Linked DNA regions of Homo sapiens: region 2 is linked to region 1. The links are contacts of gene promoters, found by promoter capture Hi-C in human tissues and cell types (Jung and others, 2019). All regions are on one chromosome and are shown on one strand. The core of a region is centred on a gene start or on the middle of the fragment in contact, and the rest is flanking DNA. Distances in the headings are between cores, read along the strand shown. Region 1 holds the start of BBOX1 (gamma-butyrobetaine hydroxylase 1). Region 2 has its middle 28 kb from the start of SLC5A12.

The links. Contacts are between HindIII fragments. The study calls those that stand out against the background at their distance.
Region 2: a contact is called between a fragment that was not itself captured here and the fragment with the promoter of BBOX1 in region 1, in 2 of the 25 tissues and cell types used here (aorta and mesenchymal stem cells).

What each region holds. Positions count from the first base shown.
Region 1 is chr11:27,037,965-27,042,635 of GRCh38, forward strand. It overlaps BBOX1 (gamma-butyrobetaine hydroxylase 1), which reads left to right and starts at 2,851. Exons shown (of 9, transcript NM_003986.3): 1 at 2,851-3,064; 2 at 3,252-3,514. The HindIII fragment of the contact is 6,644 bases long and covers 1,230-4,671 here.
Region 2 is chr11:26,747,909-26,752,673 of GRCh38, forward strand. No RefSeq gene overlaps it. Among named protein-coding and RNA genes, the nearest start is that of SLC5A12, 28 kb to the left of the region's middle. The HindIII fragment of the contact is 6,078 bases long and covers 1-4,765 here.

The DNA of each region.
Region 1 (4,671 bases), core at 1,601-4,100:
CCATGACATGAGTTTACCTATATAACAAAGCTGCATCTGTAACCTTGAACTTAAAGTAAAAAAAATTAAGGTATAGTTGGCAGGTAAAAATTATATACATTTATGGTGTACAACTTGATGTTTTAATGTATGTATATACTGTGAAATCATGAAATCAAGCTAATTAACATATCCATCACCTCATATACTTATCATTCTATGTTGTGAGGACATTTACTATCTAGCCTCTTAGCCATTTTCAAGTATATGAGATATTATTACTAACTGTAGCACAGTAGGTCTCCTGAACTTATTAATCCTATATGACTAAATTTTTGTACCTTTTGGCCATCATCTAGCCACTCCCCTGTCCTCACTCTCATGCCCTGACAACCACCATACTACTCTATGCTTCTATGAGTTTGACTTTTTTAGTTGCCACTTCTAAGTGAAATCATGCAGTGCTCATATTTCTGTGCCTGCCTTAATTCACTTAGTACGTGTCTTGCAAGCTCATCCATGTTGTCACAAATGATAAGATTTCCTTCTTTTTCAGGGCTGAATAGAATTCCATTACATACACACAAACACACACACACACACACACAGAGACACACACATAATATATTTTCTTTATCCATTCATCGATCGATGAGCCCAGGTTGATTCCCCTTATTGATTATTGTGAACAATGCTGTAATGACATTGGTCTAGGCAGTGGTTTTTTGTATATGACCCCAAACACAGGCAACAAAAGTACAAATAAATGAGGTGGCATCAAAACAAAAAGCTTTTGCACAACCAAAGCAACAGTCAACAGGGTAAAAAGATAATCTATGGAATGGGAAAAAATATTTGTAAACTATCCATCTGACAAGGAGTATCCAAAATATATAAGAAACACTCAACAGCAAACAACTCAATAGAAAAAAAATCTGATTAAAAAATAGACAAAGTATCTGAATAGACATTTCTCAAAAGAAGACATACAAATGTCCAACAGATATATAAAAAAAAATGGTCAAATCACTAATCATCATGGAAATGTAAATTAAAACGCAAACTACAATGAGAAACTACCTTACACTGTTGGAATGGCTTTCATCAAAAAGACAACAGATGAGTATTGAAGAGAATGTAGAGAAAAAGGAATCTTTGTATACTAATATGGTTTGGCTCTGTGTCCCCACCCAAATCTCATCTCAAATTGTAATCCCCATAATCCCCACATGTCAAGGGAAGGATCTGGTGGTGGGTGATTGGATCATGGGAGTGGTTTCCCCCATACTGTTCTTGTCATAGTGAGTGAGTTCTCACGAGATGTGATGCTTTTATAAGGGGCTCTTCCTTCATTCATTTGCTCTCTCTTGCCTGCCACCATGTAAGATGTGCCTTTGCTTCTCTCTTGCCTTCTTCCATGATTGTAAGTTTCCTGAGGCCTCCCCAGACATGCAGAACGATGAGTCAGTAAACTTGATAAATTACCCAGTCAGGTATGTCTTTATAGCAGTGTGAGAATAGAATAATACATACACTGTTGCTGGAAATGTAAATTGGTACAACCGTTATGGAAAACAGTATGGTGGTTCCTCAGAAAATTGAAAATAGAGCTCTCATATAATCCTGCAATCCTACCTCTGGATATATATCCAGAGGATATAGAATAAGTATGTCAAAGAGATAGCTGCACTCCCATGTTCATTTAAGAAGCTTCTTACAGTGGAGAGCAGAGTTTTGATTATTTACCTGTTTCTGAGAATCAATTCTTTATGTGCAAGTCTTTAAACTTTATTAACAGATTTACTTGTCGGTTTATTTATTGTTTGTTCTATTTAATCATTCCATTAGAAACTATTTATATCTGGCACATTCTTGTCAGCAACTTTCTTAAAGCTGAAACAGAATTTACCTAATTTATTCCAGTAATTGTTACTAAAGTACAAAGTGTAAAGGAAAAATTCATTGTGTATATTTCTGTGATGTCATGAATTATTAAAATATAATTATCTGATTGCTTTTGGCATACTTATAACTTCAGTTACCGTGGGTTTAAGATGCTGGTCACATTTATGACGGCACCCACATATACACACCCTCCTCTCATACATGGAAAACAAAACCTGCTGTTGTTTTCACTGGCCAGTGGGTGTCAGTAATTTGACCTGGAGACTTGGGGGAAGAAAGGAGGAAAGTGGAAAAGAGGTTCCTTTCTTCAGATGCAGGGAAACAGTTTAAATTTTATTGTTAAAGGATCTGAAAAAACATCGTTTAGGGAGGGGATGCTGACATTCTGGAAGGGGAGATTTCCCATAAAGGAGGCCACCAGACAGTTGGGCTGCATTTTCTCTCTGTGTGGCTACCTCTTGTTCTTTTTTGACTGAGTCTCACTCACAGCCCTGCGAATCCTTCGGGCAAGAAGCAACAAGTTGCAGGCTGCTTCTACATCTGCCTAGGAAGAGGGTGTTAGGTGGGAGGAGGGCAGATGACTCAAGCGTCTCTCTCCTGGACCTTAGTTTCCACCTGTAGACTTTCTTTTAATGTAATCTAGACTCTGTTAGGACCTAGGACCTGAGACCAGTCCAACAGGGTCTCCCCCACACTGGGCACTCTCCAAGAGTATGCCTGGCAGTCAGGCTCTGAATGCTGGCATGCTGCCTATTCTGGCCTTTCCCTTTTGTTGCCCTAAGGGCTGTGTGTTGTGAATCAAATCACTGGGCAACCAAGTACCTTCAAAAACAGCCCCAAGCTCTCTGGAAACTACTTCCTATTCCAGCCAAAATTGCAGAGAAAGGAGGGCATCAAGCTTAGGGGACCAATCCCTGTCTTTCTACCAGTCCCTGATAACTACTCAAGCTCCCTTTAAAGAGGCTCATATTGGAATACTCTGTTGACAAGTAGATACCACTTCACCTCTGCTAGGGTGAGCGCTGGTAGCTCCTCCCTGTTAAATGCCCATCTCAATGCCTCTGCCCTAAGTGAGTTGTGCAATAAATGAGCTGTCACTCTGAACAGGTGGGAAAGAAGTGAACTGCTTGTTCACTTGCTGCTGTTGCCACTGCTGGTACAGAAATAGAAGGTAAGACAGGTGAGAACTGCTTTTCCTTCTATCAAGAAAGATTCCAAACTGAGGCAATGCTTTGCATTGAGTCCTGGGGTTTTGTGGTTTTGGGAACCAACAGTACTCAAAGTATTTTCTCTTGCTAACTGCTTCCCCTCTAGGCCATAAAGCCTCTTTTCTTTCTTTTTTTTTTTTTTTTTTAAAAAAAACACAGCACAAAAAAACAAAGACAAAAAACCTCCAAGCTCCCTTCAGTAGTTGCTACACCTTCAGATTGAGACATCCTTCCTCATTTACAAACCTCAGCTGTGTCTGGGGGCAGGGCCACAGTGAAACTGCCAGGAGCAAAAAGGCTTCCAAGAAAAAGTACCACATCAGATTGGAAACTGGGGACAGATCATTCCTGGGATGTGACGGGCACCAGAATGCTCCCTCTCCAAAGGATCTAAGGACCAAAGCTGACAGTTTCTTTACTTGGTAAGTTTTGGGTGGTTTGCTGTGTAAAGCATATCTGAGAACAGGTATGATTGAGCTCATCTTCCTTTTCTCCTTATTGCAAGGGTTTGTGAATTCAAGTCTGTGGACTGAGGTGGTGGGGAGCATCCAATTAGAACTCCATTCACATGTAGCTCACAGTCATGTGGGCTGTGCTGGGGATGGTCCATCAAGCATTTAGAATAGGCTTGGTTTTGGAATGCAGTGGATCTGATTGCTTCTTGGCAGCTTCTCTTTCCCAATTATGTTTGGCTTAGTCTGATAGTCAAATTACTTTATAATCCCTAAGCTGATCCAGAAAGTAAACAGAAGAGACAGAGAGAACGCTGTCTAAAAAGAGACTGGGGATGGGGCAAGGAGGATTCTGGTTGGATTTTCAAAATGTTCCCTGAATAATCCACAACCCATCCCAAAGAATGGTGACTGCATATGATACCCTAGCTCTTTGTTAAGCTCAAAAAGCTGACTATAACATGCCTCTTTAAAATGCTGGCCAATTAAAGCCACTATGCACATCTTCAATTGTTTTGTTCCCTTAACGAAGCTCAAGAAGGTATATTACAGGTATGGATTTGATTAAAAACGTAAGGTTTCTCATAATGAATATATGTTCTGGTTTAAATAATTTAGAAATTTTCCTAAAATCTAAACCCAGTACTTTGCATTACATCAGAAAACAAAGCCTTGATAATTTGATTTCCAATCTGAAAATGGTGATTCCACTAAAGTGAAGCTAAAGTTTTCCTTTGTATAATTTACAAATGAAGTGTTTGCATGAAATTTAATGCCTTAAGCAAGACAGGCAGAATTGTGAACCTATTTTAGAGAATGCACTGGTTTTTCTAATGGCATTATTTTTGTTGTTATTGTTGCTGAGATGGGGTCTTGCTCTGTCATCCAGGCTGGAATGCAGTGATGCAATCACAGCCCACTGTAATCTCAAACTCTTGGGTTCAAGCGATTCTCCTGTCTTAACCTCCCAAGTAACTCAGAGTATGTGTATGCACCACCATGCCTGCCTAATTTTCTTTTGTAGATATGGGGGTCTCACTATATTGTCCAGGCTGGTCTCAAATTCCTGGCCTCAAACAATCCTTCTGCTCCGGCCTCCCAAAGTGCTGGGATTACAGGCCACTGTA
Region 2 (4,765 bases), core at 1,574-4,073, 290 kb before region 1:
CTTATTATTTTCTTGGACACAAGCTTTCTTCCAATTGTCATATAACGAATGTGTTTTTATGTTGTCCAATATGTGTGTTTGTTTCTCCATTCAAATTTCAAACTGTAATTAAGGTAATTTCTTTATCTCTGTTTGCTCACAAGGGTATTATTTAATAAGCCCCATAAAATTCTCCCTTGCTAAATGAAATGTTCTTTCTATTTTAGAAGCTGTATAGAGTCGGTTGTGATTGATGGCTGGGATGTAACAAAAATGAAACATGCCAAGACTTTGTAGTGGCTTTGCCTATAAAAGCAGTAATCCACCAACGCCTTATTATGGAGTACCTGATTATCATTATGACAGAAATATGGAGCCCAAACATCTTACTTTAATGAGCCTTTCTCATTTGGAGAACTTACTTTGGCTTGGGTTTGTTCAAAAATACTTTGCTCTTTTGAGACCACAGTACCTAATTTAGCAGCTCATTATACTTTACTGTAAATGACATTGTGTTCTTATTTCTAAATGTTATTTCCATCAGCACTTGATTTCCTACACATTTGACTTGCATGAGTTTTCTAATATTTCCTTAGATACACAATATTATCTGCATGACAAATTTAGGTAACTTCTTATAACAGATTCAGTTAAGCTTCATGATGTAGCTTTATTACAATCAAGGTCAAACACTGGCTCACAAGTTTTTATATCATAGTAAAAATCTAAAAGAAAATTTCATTTTTGTTCTGTCTCACTTCTCTTCTCCTAATCACCCTATCTATAAATTCTTAATTTTATCAAGCCCATCACTAAAATAAGTGCAAAATAATCAATTGTATATTTGTATATCAAGGGAATATTGTCTGGAATTATTTTTGGCAGAGGAAGGAATGTTAAATTATCCATCAAAACTACCTGATATGGGAAAATGTGGACATTAGCTATTCTTCAGTTACTATTAGCTTTGGTATTTCTTTCTGTGTGTGCATCTGTGTCTAATGGGGTGGGGGTGGAGGGTGTCAAGAAAGAGAGAGAGAATTTTGTTGCAGAGAAAAATAATTTTCACCTGAAACACATGCAATTAAGACGTTATCCTCTCAATTAAGTAATCCAAGATTACTTAAAAGTTTATCTAGTAATCCATCTGGTTTTGTTGCATGATGCTGTGGCTTAATAGTCAGGTTGTTCACTTTTGACATTACTGCCAGAAAGTTTAGACCAAAATTTCTGGCTCACACCCATATTAAATGTGTTGCTTATTGTAGTTTGAAGAATTAGACTTTTTAAATGTTTCTGTCTCAGATCCACTCCTTTACAGTTTTTCTTTATTTCTTTGCCCACATTTAACCTAGGCTAATTTACAATATTTTATTGTGCTGCACAAATCACTTAATAAGCCTTCTGAAATTCTTTCTAGAACAAGGTGGAATATAATACATGGACAGTCAATGTGAAGATCCTGAAATCCTGAGTAATTATCCCATATACAAATTTCATCCTTTTTAAAAATAGACACAACCAAGTTATGGTGTGTGCTTACTGTCTGCCAGGAGCCAGAAGTAGACTGGATGTGAACCTCAGCTGTTAGGCTGAGATATCCTTCTAACTTACTTTGACTCTTACTCTGAAATCTCTTAAACTCACCCCACCTTCTGCATCCCAAGGGCATTCATTATGGTTCTTTCTCTCACATTCATAAGCCTTTGCATCATGCATTCTAATTTACAAAGCATTTTGCAGTGCCTGTTAACCAATCTCTCTACCGCAGGTGCCCATCCATTCTAATCCATCCTGCACACCTATACAGTGTAATTTTCTTAAAATACCATTTTCATCTTGCTCAAGAACCTCTATCTGTCATTTTAAGGTGAAACATCTCGTCTAAAACTTCAACAACTTTCAGTAGCTAGCATCATCTTACTTCTACAAATAATTCCTCTCTTTAATTTTCAACATGAATCTTCCTCTTCAGTAGTTGCCCTAATTTTTCTCCAGCAGTGCTGTCTTCTTTTCTGCTTCCACATGTAGTTTATGCAGTTTCTATTACCTTGAACACCAGCCTAGTTTTCTCCTCCAATTAAAATCCTATTCAATTTTAAAGACTCAATTAATCTACAGTTCTTTCACAAAGGTTCTGAATCTCAGAGACTGTTCCTAACTATACTTGTTTTTTTTTTTTTTTATCATTTTCTCTAACTAGATTATGTGTTTCTTAATGACAGGCATGATATTGCATCATCTCTTGGGTCTGCCATGTTAGTAAGCCCAGCATTGAGAGATATTATAAAATTAGTAGAAACTTATTGAGCCTCAATCACTCCAAACAATTATCAAGTACTCAGCCAGAGGCCATATGTTTTAGAATTAGTAAAATGAAAGACCTAAGAAACTCCAGAAACTCTAATGGCCTGACTTCCACTCAAGCATTTCAAGATAATACTGAATCAAATTTGTAATACAATCAGAGTCCCCAACACTCTAGAGAGATGAAGATATTCATGGGCTTTGCTCAGTTACCATAAACTATAATTCAATATGGTCATGAGGAAGTATTTCCATAAACACTGTCAAAAAGAATGAATTTGGGTTTTTTAATTCCCGTTTTTCCATTGCTATTACTAATAACTGAGGCAAGAATCAACAGTGTATGCTAAAAGCAATGGGTGAAATTTTGATGGACTCAGGATTAGAATATTTCTCTGGTCTCAGAATGTCTCACCACAGATTATTAATTACTTATGAATAAAAAAATGACAACTATACAGTGTAAAAACTTGGTAAACACCACTAGTCAAGTAATCAAAGCTAACATTACCAATTCGTTACAGGCCAACCTGATACCAGATGCATGCCCCATGATGGAGTGCACTAAAATGACACAGCATCATTCATGTGGTATTTCTGCCAAAAATGCATCACCTGAATCTCATCATGAGGAAAAAAAAATCAGAAAATCCCACATTGAGGGACTTCCTGTAGAAACTGTCCTATACTCTTCAAAAATGTCAGTTTCATAGCAGAGAAAGGAGATTGAAGAAGAATGAAAACAAAATGCAATGACTGATCCTGGGTGGGATTTTTTTTTTCTGTGAAGGATAGTTTGGGAAGAACTATTGAAATATGTATATTAGATGATAGTATTGTATCATTGATAATTTCCTAAACTTGCTAGTTGCATTGCGATTATAAATGAATATCCTTGTTCTTAGAAGCTACTTTCTGAAGTATGAAGGGTCATAATGCCTGTCATTTGTTTAAAATTTCATAAATAATTATTATGGTATTCATCTATGTGTAGCAATAAATATAGATATATTGAGAGAAATGTCATGATGTCATAATTAAAGACAATATAAGTTTCATTGTACTAATTCTTGTGAGCCTTGTTTAACTCATCATTGTGGTAGCCAAAATAGTAGCCCCCTAAAAATGTCCACATTCTATGTGAATATGTTAAGGTGCATGGCAAAGAGTAATTAAGATTGCTGATGGAATTAAGATGGTAAATTAAACTGGAGATAGGCAAATTATCCTAGATTATCCCAGAGGGCTTTATGGAATCACTGGAGTCCTTATAAAAGCAGAAGAGGTACGCAGAACAGGGAGAAAAGGAGAGATGGTGACATGGGAAGGACTTAGCCTGACATCAGTGGCTTTGAAGATGGAGAAAGGGCCCACTAGCCAAGGAATACAGATTGGCTCTAGAAGTTGGAAAAGGCAAGGAAATAGATTCTTCCCTGGAGCCTCTAGAAGGAATGTGACCTGCGACATGCTGATTTTAGCTTAGTGGGACCAATTTCAGACTTTTGACCTAGAGAATTGTGAGATAATAAATTTATTATCTAAGCCACTAAGTTTCTTGAAGTTCTTACAGCAGCAATAGAAAACTGATACACTCCTTTTTTTTCTGTAAAATTAAAGTTTGAAAAAAAGCAGCGTATGTGTAGAATGCTTTCTAAGAACCCCAGCTCTAGAGGCAGGCTGTTGAATCAGGGGAGGTAAAAGATTGTCTAAAGGGTTTGTAATTTTTCGGAAACTTGATTTTTAACACAAATGAAGATGAAGAACTATTCTCAGAGTAGTACAACTGCAAATCAACACAAAATAGAAATAAAATGGAATCAACAGAAAATGAGACAGGAAGAGAGAATAAAGCTTTAGCCTGAGTCTTCTTTGGCATTTGTCAAGAGAGGGACAAAGGAAAAGGAGATAGTTTATATTTACGTATGTATTTATACACATGTAACATTATACATATATTTACTTTATTTACATAGTATGTATTTTATTTATGCTTATTTTATTATATTGCAATTATATATATTATATACATATACACACACACACACACATATAACACCCACACACACATATATATGTGTGTATGTGTACATATTGTATCTTTTGGGATGTGTGAAATGTTGAAAAGGGGACTGAATTCTAGTCTAGCTTTTGTCATCTTAGTTTGGTAAAACTGGGAAATATTGGGCTAGTTCAAAGTTAATTGCGGTTTTTGCCATTAAAAGTAATAATACAAGTGCTCTGAGCTTCAGACTCCTCAACTCTACCAAAAAAAAAAAAAATCACACTTATCTTGATGATTGCTGTGAGAATTAAATGAAAAAGAGTACAAACACCTAAAAGAGGGTTAGTATAAAATGTGTGATCAATATACAGAACCATCAATGCATTTATTATTGTTGCTACTTACACTGGTGCTTCTACTACCGTTGTTGGTACTTGGCTGTATCCACTTTGTTCTTTCATCATTCAGCCCCTCTTC